2 separate regions of the Homo sapiens genome follow, and region 1 is linked to region 2. Evidence: promoter capture Hi-C in human tissues and cell types (Jung and others, 2019). All regions are on one chromosome and are shown on one strand. Each heading gives the region's core, a stretch centred on a gene start or on the middle of the fragment in contact. The rest is flanking DNA. Distances are from core to core; before and after follow the strand shown.

Region 1 (4,669 bases), core at 622-3,121, 450 kb before region 2:
ACACACATACATACACGTACATATGTATACACACATACATACACGTACATATGTATACACACATACATACACGTACATATGTATATACATGTAAAAATTTATCAAGGTATACACATACTGTGTACATGTTATGCCCCAATAAACACAGAAACAAAAAGTAATATATGCTCATCAAATATTTAAGCAATGCAGAAGTGTATACAACATAAAGAAAACCGTGATTAACATTTTTATGTATGTCTCCCTGAACTCCTCTGATCACATCCATATTTCTTTCTTCAAACTGTCGCTGATATCCATGCTATCCAAAGCCTTTGATCTATGTGTAGCACCAAACCAAGTGACATAAATGAAAAGTTTCAACCTTCATGTGACAAAGTTCAGCAGCAATACTGAGCCCCTCCTTCACATAAAGAGTAGTGGGAAATACAAACATGAGTAAGTCACAACCAGTGCTCTCAAAGAATTCACAGTCCAGGGAGAGAAACTACAGGGACTACCGGCCAAACAAAAACCCCAAGAACTGTAATATCAAGCCACGCAGTAGAGTTTCACAGGGCCATTAAAACGAGTTCAAACTATTGTACAAGGAATGACACCTTACAGTTGTATAGAGCTTGCAGCTTTCAGTTTTTTCACATACAGGCTCACAAACTTAACCCTATGAAGTAGTCATTATAAATGTCATTATAAATATTATCCTTGTTTTATAAGTAATGAAGAAGTTAAATTACTTGCCTGGACGGCTAGTGGAAGAGTTGGGACTAAAACCTAAGTATTCTGACTCCTAATACATTGGTTACTCATAAATCCGCCGCCAGCAGTACCTGCTCACTTCCAGATGGAAACAGCAAGCTGATAACAGCCTAGTCCACTGGCCAGGTTAACGACGAGGCCGGGCCATTCAATGCCCTTCCACCACGAGGCCTTACGGAGCAGTCCCGGGGAGGACTGAGGCCTCCAACTGCATTCTCACACTGCCTCTAACCCATCTACCTCTAGCTATCCTCAGACCACCAAATATCGGGAGAGGGTGGGAGGGGGAACAGCCTAGGATGACAGCAGGTGGCCTCAGTATTGGGATCCACATTCACTGGATTTACAGAGCCTCCTTCCTTCCCAGTTCTTCTCTCCATTCCCACGCTTCCACTTTGGTCTTCCAACTTTTTCCTCTTTCAGTTGTCCACCACTTCTCCAATCTGCTTTCCCTCAGCCACCCACATCCACCCCTTTTCTGGTCCCCTCTCTACCTTAAGAAGCTGCTAGAGGTTTTTCACCATTCCACTGAACTTTGTCTTTCTGTTCACATTTCCTTGTCTACTTGGACAAGAAGGCCGGAAATCTGCTTTTAGACAACACAGCCCACGGCCGCCACCGGGTGAGAGACCTGGGACCCTTCGCTGCTTTGGCGCTGGGGCACAGCTGTTCAGAGGTTCTCCACGTTGGCTGAGCGATGTCTGAGTTCCCCCGCCTTTCTAGGGAGGGAGGGATAGACATAAACTTGACTTTCAACATTGAGGACAGTTGACTACCTAGAGGAAAGGCGGTGGCCGGGAGTCACCGCCCCAACCCTCAGCTGAAGGCCATGTGGCATGGAGGGTCCGGACTCCAGCTCCTACTCTGGCACCTTCCGAAATGAAACCACCTCCGCGGCACCTCGGAGGGGCTGAGTAACCAGACCCACTGACCGTCCATCCCTGTCCCGGGAGAGAGCCTCCGGGACCTCCCGCTCGGCCAGGGCCAGAGGGTCCCCTCCCCACCCCCACCCCTCGCTCCTGGCTCCCGTGCTCCCCTCCCTTCCCTGACCGCCCTCCCAGCCCGCCGCCCCCGGCGGCTGGCGCGGGCGGTGCAGCATGCGGCAAAGCTCTTTGCATAAATTATGCTCATGACGCAGCAGCTAAAAAAATCCAAGTAGCAGAAGGAGGGAAAAAAGGGGGGGAGGGAAAAGGGGGGGGTCGTGGAAGGGGGAACGAAGAAAAATATATACCTGACCGCCCCCCCACCCGGCTTCCCCTTCCCGCTTCCCGGCCGTCCCCTCTCCGCCCGGCTTAGCCTGCGGAGCCCCCTTCGGCTCTGCCCAGCCCAGGCTGGGGGCCTGGGGGCGGCGGCGGGTCCCGACCAGCTCCCGGGCCGAGCCGAGCCCAGCCAAGCCGCACTGGCTTCTTTGTCTGCGGGCGGCGGCCGCCGTGGCCCCGGCCCCGGCCCCGGCCCCCTGGCCCGGGCTGTGAGATGAATCTCTAATCGGTGGCCGCCAGACACCCGCGGCGAAGGCGGCTCGGGCTCGGGCTCCGGTAAGTAGCGGGGTCCGGGGCGGGGAGGGGTTTGCACGGAGGGGGAGGGGGCCGGGCAGGGGAGGTTTCGGGTTTGGTTAATATGCAATGCCCGTAATTAGCATAATTTATATATTTATGATAAAGAGAAAAAAAGCCGCGGGGCCGGGGCGGCGGGATGCTGGGCCGGGGCGGCGGGGAGCTGCGGGAGCGGGACAGCGCGCGGTTGCCCAGCTGGGGCTAGACACCCGGGGGCCGCGCCCTCGCCCGCCCGCGGGCCGCTCTGGACCTGGAGCGGAGGGGGCGGCCGCCAGGTGGACCCGGTGGGGAACCCCGACCTGGCCCCTCCCCGTTTCTGCCCCTGGAGCCCTTGTGGGGTGCGGACCACAGGGGACGCTCTGTACACAGAACCAGTGGCGACCAGAAGCGGATCCTTGCCTCTCTGGAGAACACGGACGCCTGGGTTCCCGGCGGTTAGGGCCAGCTGGGGCGGCCAGGGTGACCTGTCACGGTTCTCCCGAATGAACAAACTCCGGGACGACCGGTGGGACCCGGGGGTAGGGACCCAGGCGTTGCTGGAAGGGTGGGTCAGTGATGGGAGGGCCACCTTCTAGCAGAGCATGAGCACTTCATAAATATTTAATATCGATATTATTATTAATAAATAGTCATAATAATGGGCCCGATGCAGGCTCCCTGGGCAGGCTCACCTGGCAAGGCCAAGGGAGCTCCCAGCATACCCTCTAACCTCCACTTTCGCGGCAGAATACCCCACTCAGCCCGACTGGAAGCCTAAAACCTTCACAGAATAGCCTCTGCGGCTGGGCAGGGGGAAATCAGAAGAGTTCGGGAAGCATTCCTGGGCCAAAGAAAAGAGGCTCTTTGCAGAGATTTTTAACCTCATCTGCCCTTCCCAAATTCCTTGTTCCAAAAGTAGAGGGCTGGTCTTCAATTGTTCATATACATGTGTCCCATGCCCCTTATTTAGCAATCTAAGGCAGCCACCATTGACTGGCAGAGGCCTTCTGAGGAATAATTCCATATATTCCATTTTCATTCAAGTCCTGGTCCTCAAAGTGATACTTCTGTGACCTGGTACTCCGCTTATCTGCTGTAGAACTTCATTTCTTCATTAGTTCAACAAAAATACCCACTCAGTGCCATGCTCTGAACAATTCAGACAAAACTTCTATCATGGAGTTTTTATTCTGGGGGTGGACAAGTAGATGCTAAACATTAAAACTAACAAGGTAATACCATAGAGTGATTGTGTGTCAGTGTGTGTGTATGTAGCCATTTATTCTGTTTTGTTCCTGGAAGTACTAGCTGGCAGTTAAGAAAAGTGACTCAGAAAAAATTTGCTCCTGTAAGGTTTTTCTGCATTTTGAAGGAACTTGGGATAAGCTCATATTCTTGTCCCCAAGATTTACTCACCATAAAATTATCAGAGTAATCTTTTACATTTTCTTTTTTTTGAGACAGAGTCTAGCTGATTTTTTTGTATCTTAGTAGAGATGGGGTTTCACCGTGTTGCCCAGGCTGGTCTCGAACTCCTTAGCTCAGGCAATCCAACCGTCTTGGCCTCCCAAAGTGCTGGGATTACAGGCGTGAGCCACCGTGCCTGGCCATCTTTTACATTTTTAAAATGCTTTATAATTTAAAACATTTTTATATGCATGCTTTACTTCAGTTCAAAATAATAGCAATGATAATAACAAACATATATATAGTGTTTGCTTCATGCTAGGCCCTGTTTTAAGTGCCTTCCATAAATATTATCAATTTAATCCTCACAATAACCCATGAGGTGGTTACTATAATTTGGTTCCATTTTGGATAAGGAAACGGAGGCTTATAGGGATTACCTCTAGTAGAAGCAGTACTCAAGCTGGGTCTTCTGCCTTTAAACCTGCCTTTGACCCCTCATGTCAAAATGAGGGTTCATGAGGCAGAAGAGAGAGTGGGATGCAGGAGAAACTGGCCACAGGAGGAAGGCTTGGAATGAGAAATTAGACGGGCGCTTTAGGAAGGGGCCAGTGTGGTCTGGGTTCTCCAGAACCCAATACTACACCTTGGAAATCTCTCTTTTTTTTTTTTTTTTTTTTTTGAGACAGGGTTTCACTCTGTCGCTCAGTCTGGAGTGCAGTGGCGCGATCTTGGTCTCACTGCAACCTCCACCTCCCGGGTTCAAGCAATTCTCCCACCTCGGCCTCCCAACTAGCTGGAACTATAGGCGCACACCACCATGCCTGGCTAATTTTTGTATTTTCAGTAGAGACGGGGTTTCACCATGTTGGCCAAGCTGGTCTTGAACTTCTGACCTCAAGTAATCCGCCCGCCTCGGCCTCCCAAAGTGCTAGGATTACAGACGTGAACCACCACACCCGGCCTGTACCACG
Region 2 (4,179 bases), core at 50-2,549:
TCACTTGAACCCAGGAGGCGGAGGCTGCAGTGAGCCAAGATGGTGTCACTGCAGTCCAGCCTGGGCGACAGAACAAGACTCTGTCTCAAAAAGAAAGAAAGAAAAAAAAAAGAGTAAAGCAAAATAAGTAAAGTTATTCCAAATAAACTAAATTAGAAGACTTTTCATGAACCAGGCAACCACTGGAACTAAGCTGATATCGGGTTGTTAGCTGATTGTAATGTGCCCAGAATCAGAATACTGATCCAGATTTTTAAATTACCCATCCCTCTTATTTCTTCTGAGCAACAATTAGAGATTACTGGTTGGTTTACAAGAATACGCAGGGTTAGCCTAAATTGCAGAAACAAACTTAAAAACAATTAATGAGACCAGAATTTAATAACAAGTGTACCATAGTTTTTGAAACATAGTATTTCTCTCTCCAGTTTCCCATTTTTACTAAAGACAAATTATGGTAAGACTGACTTGCTTTATTATACTTGGCCTGATTGTTTGTATAAAGTGCAGCAAGAATAATAATTTTTCACATAGGCTTTTTAATTGGCTTTGATGGAACTCTGTTTCATAAGGAATCTCAGATAAGACTTTTTTAAAAGCCAAGCCCTGACATGGGTTTGTACCCTTAAATACCTATAACTTGGGTAAATTTCTCTCCTTTTGAGGTCCCAAGATAACTTGGGGCTCCTGGACAGGTGAGAAAGTGACATTCTTTACTTACCATAGGTCAGAAACCCTGTACAGGCACTGTGTAGGCAAGGTATGAGGCCAGTTCCCCAAAGGGCTTTTATTGGCTCTACAAGTCAAGTTTGATTCCTTAAAGAAAAGCACACCATTTCAGTCAAAGCCTTGGTAAAATAACCACTTTCTCCAATTGTATTCTGTTACAAAAGAAAACAGATTCTTATTGCACTTATGCAAATAATTACATTGCCATAAGTTAAGAATACTCACAACTAGTTTCCAAATTCTGGAGAAATCTGATATAGAGAAACAAATATGTTCCAAATTTCGTTCACAGCAGTATACTTTACTCAATTGCTATGAACTGTAAATAGCTCAAATGAAAAGTTTCCTTGACTCTGAAAAACAAAACAAAGGATCAGCAACATTTTAATCAAAGATTACTTCAGTTTTCTATTGGTTCAGTTGATTCAATTAACTCATGTTTCATTTGATATTCATGAACATTCTAGCTCTTCATGAGTTCTGAAAGTTGTTTCCTCTATTCTAATGTTACAATTTCCAAAGTTATTAGAAACCTGCATTTAAGAACACCTGCTAGAGTTCTATAGCTGATTATAAATCATCTTCTAAACAGGATTAAAACAAGACAACAATTGTCTGTGGATGATAAAAAGTTTTAGGAGAGCCACTATTAAAGCCAGAAATGATAAGGAAATTTGGTTACTTCTGTGGCACACAATATTTTGCATAACAATTATAATTATTAATAACATACACTAAATCATATTAGAATTATAGGAGTTTCCCATAACTTTGGAACATATACCAATAATACAGTTATGTAAATATAATCCAAAGAAAGCAAAACACCATTTGACATTTGATAATGCTTCCTGTATGAATTTTTTTTTTTTTTGAGATGGAGTCTCGCTCTGTCACCCAGGCTGGATAGAGTGCAGTGGTGCAATCTCAGATCACTGCAACCTCCCCCTCCCAGGTTCAAGCGCTTCTCCTGCCTCAGCCTCGAGTAGCTGTGACTACAGGTGTGCGCCACCATGCCCGGCTAACTTTTGTATTTTTTGATAGAGATGGGGTTTCACCATGTTGGCCAGACTGGTCTCAAACTCCTAACCTCAGGTGATCCATCTGCCTCGACCTCCCTAAGTGCTGGGATTACAGGTTTGAGCCACTGTGCCCGGCCAACTTAGAATAATTATTTAACTCTTTAGCCAAAAAACCCCACATTTCCATGCCTTCTTATAATCTTTTACCAAAAGTACATTCTATTTTCCTTACTACACACCTTACATGTAAAACTGTCTCTTCAATAGTCTCAGTTACATGTTCCAATTTTAACTTTTAGCGACTTTTACTTTTGGTGAAAACCCTGGTTAGTAAGCAATTTTAATTATGTACTAGGTGTGGAGCCTAGCCTAGGACACACCAGGCAGAAGTGCAGATAAGAGCTGACTCTCCAGCACAGCTTAGGGGCGTGGCTAACTCCACATGTCCCCAGGCCTTATCTAGAATCTAATGGCTTTAAGGTAGGGTAAATTGAACAATTTTTAAAAGTCAAAGAAACAGTTTATGACCTCAAATCATTTAACAAACTTAATATCTGACCTGCATAATTAAGATTAACATTTTTATCAATTTTAAAGATGTGTTTATTTCCTAAAGATTACTAAAGTTACATGAACTAAAAGGCATTAGTTATTTTGCTTTCAAAATATTTGATTTAAATGTTTATTTTTGTTTAAGCTGATTAATCAGAGCTCTTTTATATAAATATTACACACGACACCTATATAGCTACACAGAAAGACAGATGATGATGATAACAGTGGTTGTAAGATTTTTCATTTGCCAGTTTTTAAGTTTCTTAATTGGATTACCGGCTTCAGGGTGGAGCCCTTGGAAGAACAGGGCCACGAAAGGGGTCTCTGGTGCCTCTTGTTTTTCCCAAGGAGTCCAGGCTGTTAGAGCTTGAATATCCACTTTTAATTAAACTTATTTTAACCATAGCACTCTTTAATAAAGTCCTTTTAGAAGTTTTTATGCCAAACGGCTGGTATTTCTGGCTTTTGAATTTTATCAAAGGTAACCTCCCAGGTGCTTAGAAAAAGGAAAATATAAGACAGTTCACAGAGGAGAAGAGAATAGACAAAGTCATGCAGATATTAAACCAGAAACGACTTACTTCCTAGGTGGGTAATTGAACCTGGACTGTTGCCACGGAAGTGCAAAAGCTGGCTGGGTGCGGTGGCTCATGCCTGTAATCCCATCAGTTTAGGAGGCTGAGGCAGGTGGATCACCTGAGGTCAGGAGTTCGAGACCAGCCTGCCCAATATGATGAAACCCCATCTCTACTAAAAATACAAAAATTAGCTGGGCGTAGTGGCACACACCTGTAATCCCAGCTACTTGGGAAGATGACGCAGGCAAATCACTTGAACTCGGGAGGCGGAGGTTGCAGTGAGCTGAGATCGCACCACTGCACTCCAGCCTGGGCGACAGAGCAAGACTCCATCTCAAAAAAAAAAAAAAAGAAAGTGCAAAAGCTTAGCTACTGAGCTACAGCACAGGGCAGTCTCTGTTGACCTTCCCAGAAGGAGTCTAGAGTAGTTAATTTTGAGCTTATAAGGGCTTTTAACTATTTAATATTATTTTTAGAGCTAACTATGACATGAATCCTGAAATTCCTGTTCTCTGAAGGTGGGGACCAAAAGAAAGTACCACCACATGGTTAAAAGGTCAAGCTCCCAAGGACGTAAAACAAGGTGGAGACTTCATCCAGTCTTTTATTTGTTACAGGGACCTGCAGCCAAGTATCTTACTGACCAGCTTGCTGGGTCATCTTGAAAAGCGAGCTTACAGGTGTTCTTTTTTTTCTTTTTTTGAGATGGACATGGAGTCTCGCTCTGTTGCCAGGCTGGAGTGCAGTGGCACGATCTCGGCTCACTGCAACCTCCGCCTCCCGGGTTCAAGTGATTATCCTGCCTCAGCCTCCCAAGTAGCTGGGACTACAGGCGCACGCCACCACACCCAGCTAATTTTTTGTATTTTTAGTAGAGATAGGGTTTCACCATGTTGGCCACGGCTGGTCTCAAACTCCTGACCTCAGGGGATCCACCAGCCTCAGCCTCCCAAAGTGCTGGGATTACAGGCCTGAGCCACCGTGCCAGGCTGATTTTTTTTTTTTTAACCATTCACTTAACCATTTGTACAGTGAGAGAGAAGCCAGAAATCTGACTGGTAATACATTCTTACCCTTTTGCCAGCATCCCAGGCTTCTGGGTTCCCTTTCCCTTAGTGGTCCTAGTGTTCAAGCTTGCAGCATCATTGCCCTGGGGGCCAAGCCGTATCATAAAGGAAAATTATGTTTTTTCCATTCTGGCCAGAGCAAAATACGTGTGATAAAACAAAGACATTAGCCACTCCGCTTAGCACCCAATATCAAACTAGCAAGGCTTAAATTTGCCCCCAGATGGG

The links. Contacts are between HindIII fragments. The study calls those that stand out against the background at their distance.
Region 1: a contact is called between the fragment with the promoter of POU6F1 here and a fragment that was not itself captured in region 2, in 1 of the 25 tissues and cell types used here (aorta).

What each region holds. Positions count from the first base shown.
Region 1 is chr12:51,215,264-51,219,932 of GRCh38, reverse strand. POU6F1 (POU class 6 homeobox 1) reads left to right here and starts at 1,871. Exons shown (of 11, transcript NM_001330422.2): 1 at 1,871-2,291. RefSeq lists an enhancer at 1,488-1,547 and silencers at 1,698-1,847, 2,048-2,207, 2,438-2,697. The HindIII fragment of the contact is 30,817 bases long and covers 1-4,669 here.
Region 2 is chr12:50,766,932-50,771,110 of GRCh38, reverse strand. The region is part of intron 1 of ATF1 (activating transcription factor 1); the gene reads right to left. Among named protein-coding and RNA genes, the nearest start is that of ATF1, 4.9 kb to the right of the region's middle. RefSeq lists enhancers at 1,203-1,703, 1,704-2,204. The HindIII fragment of the contact is 6,244 bases long and covers 1-4,179 here.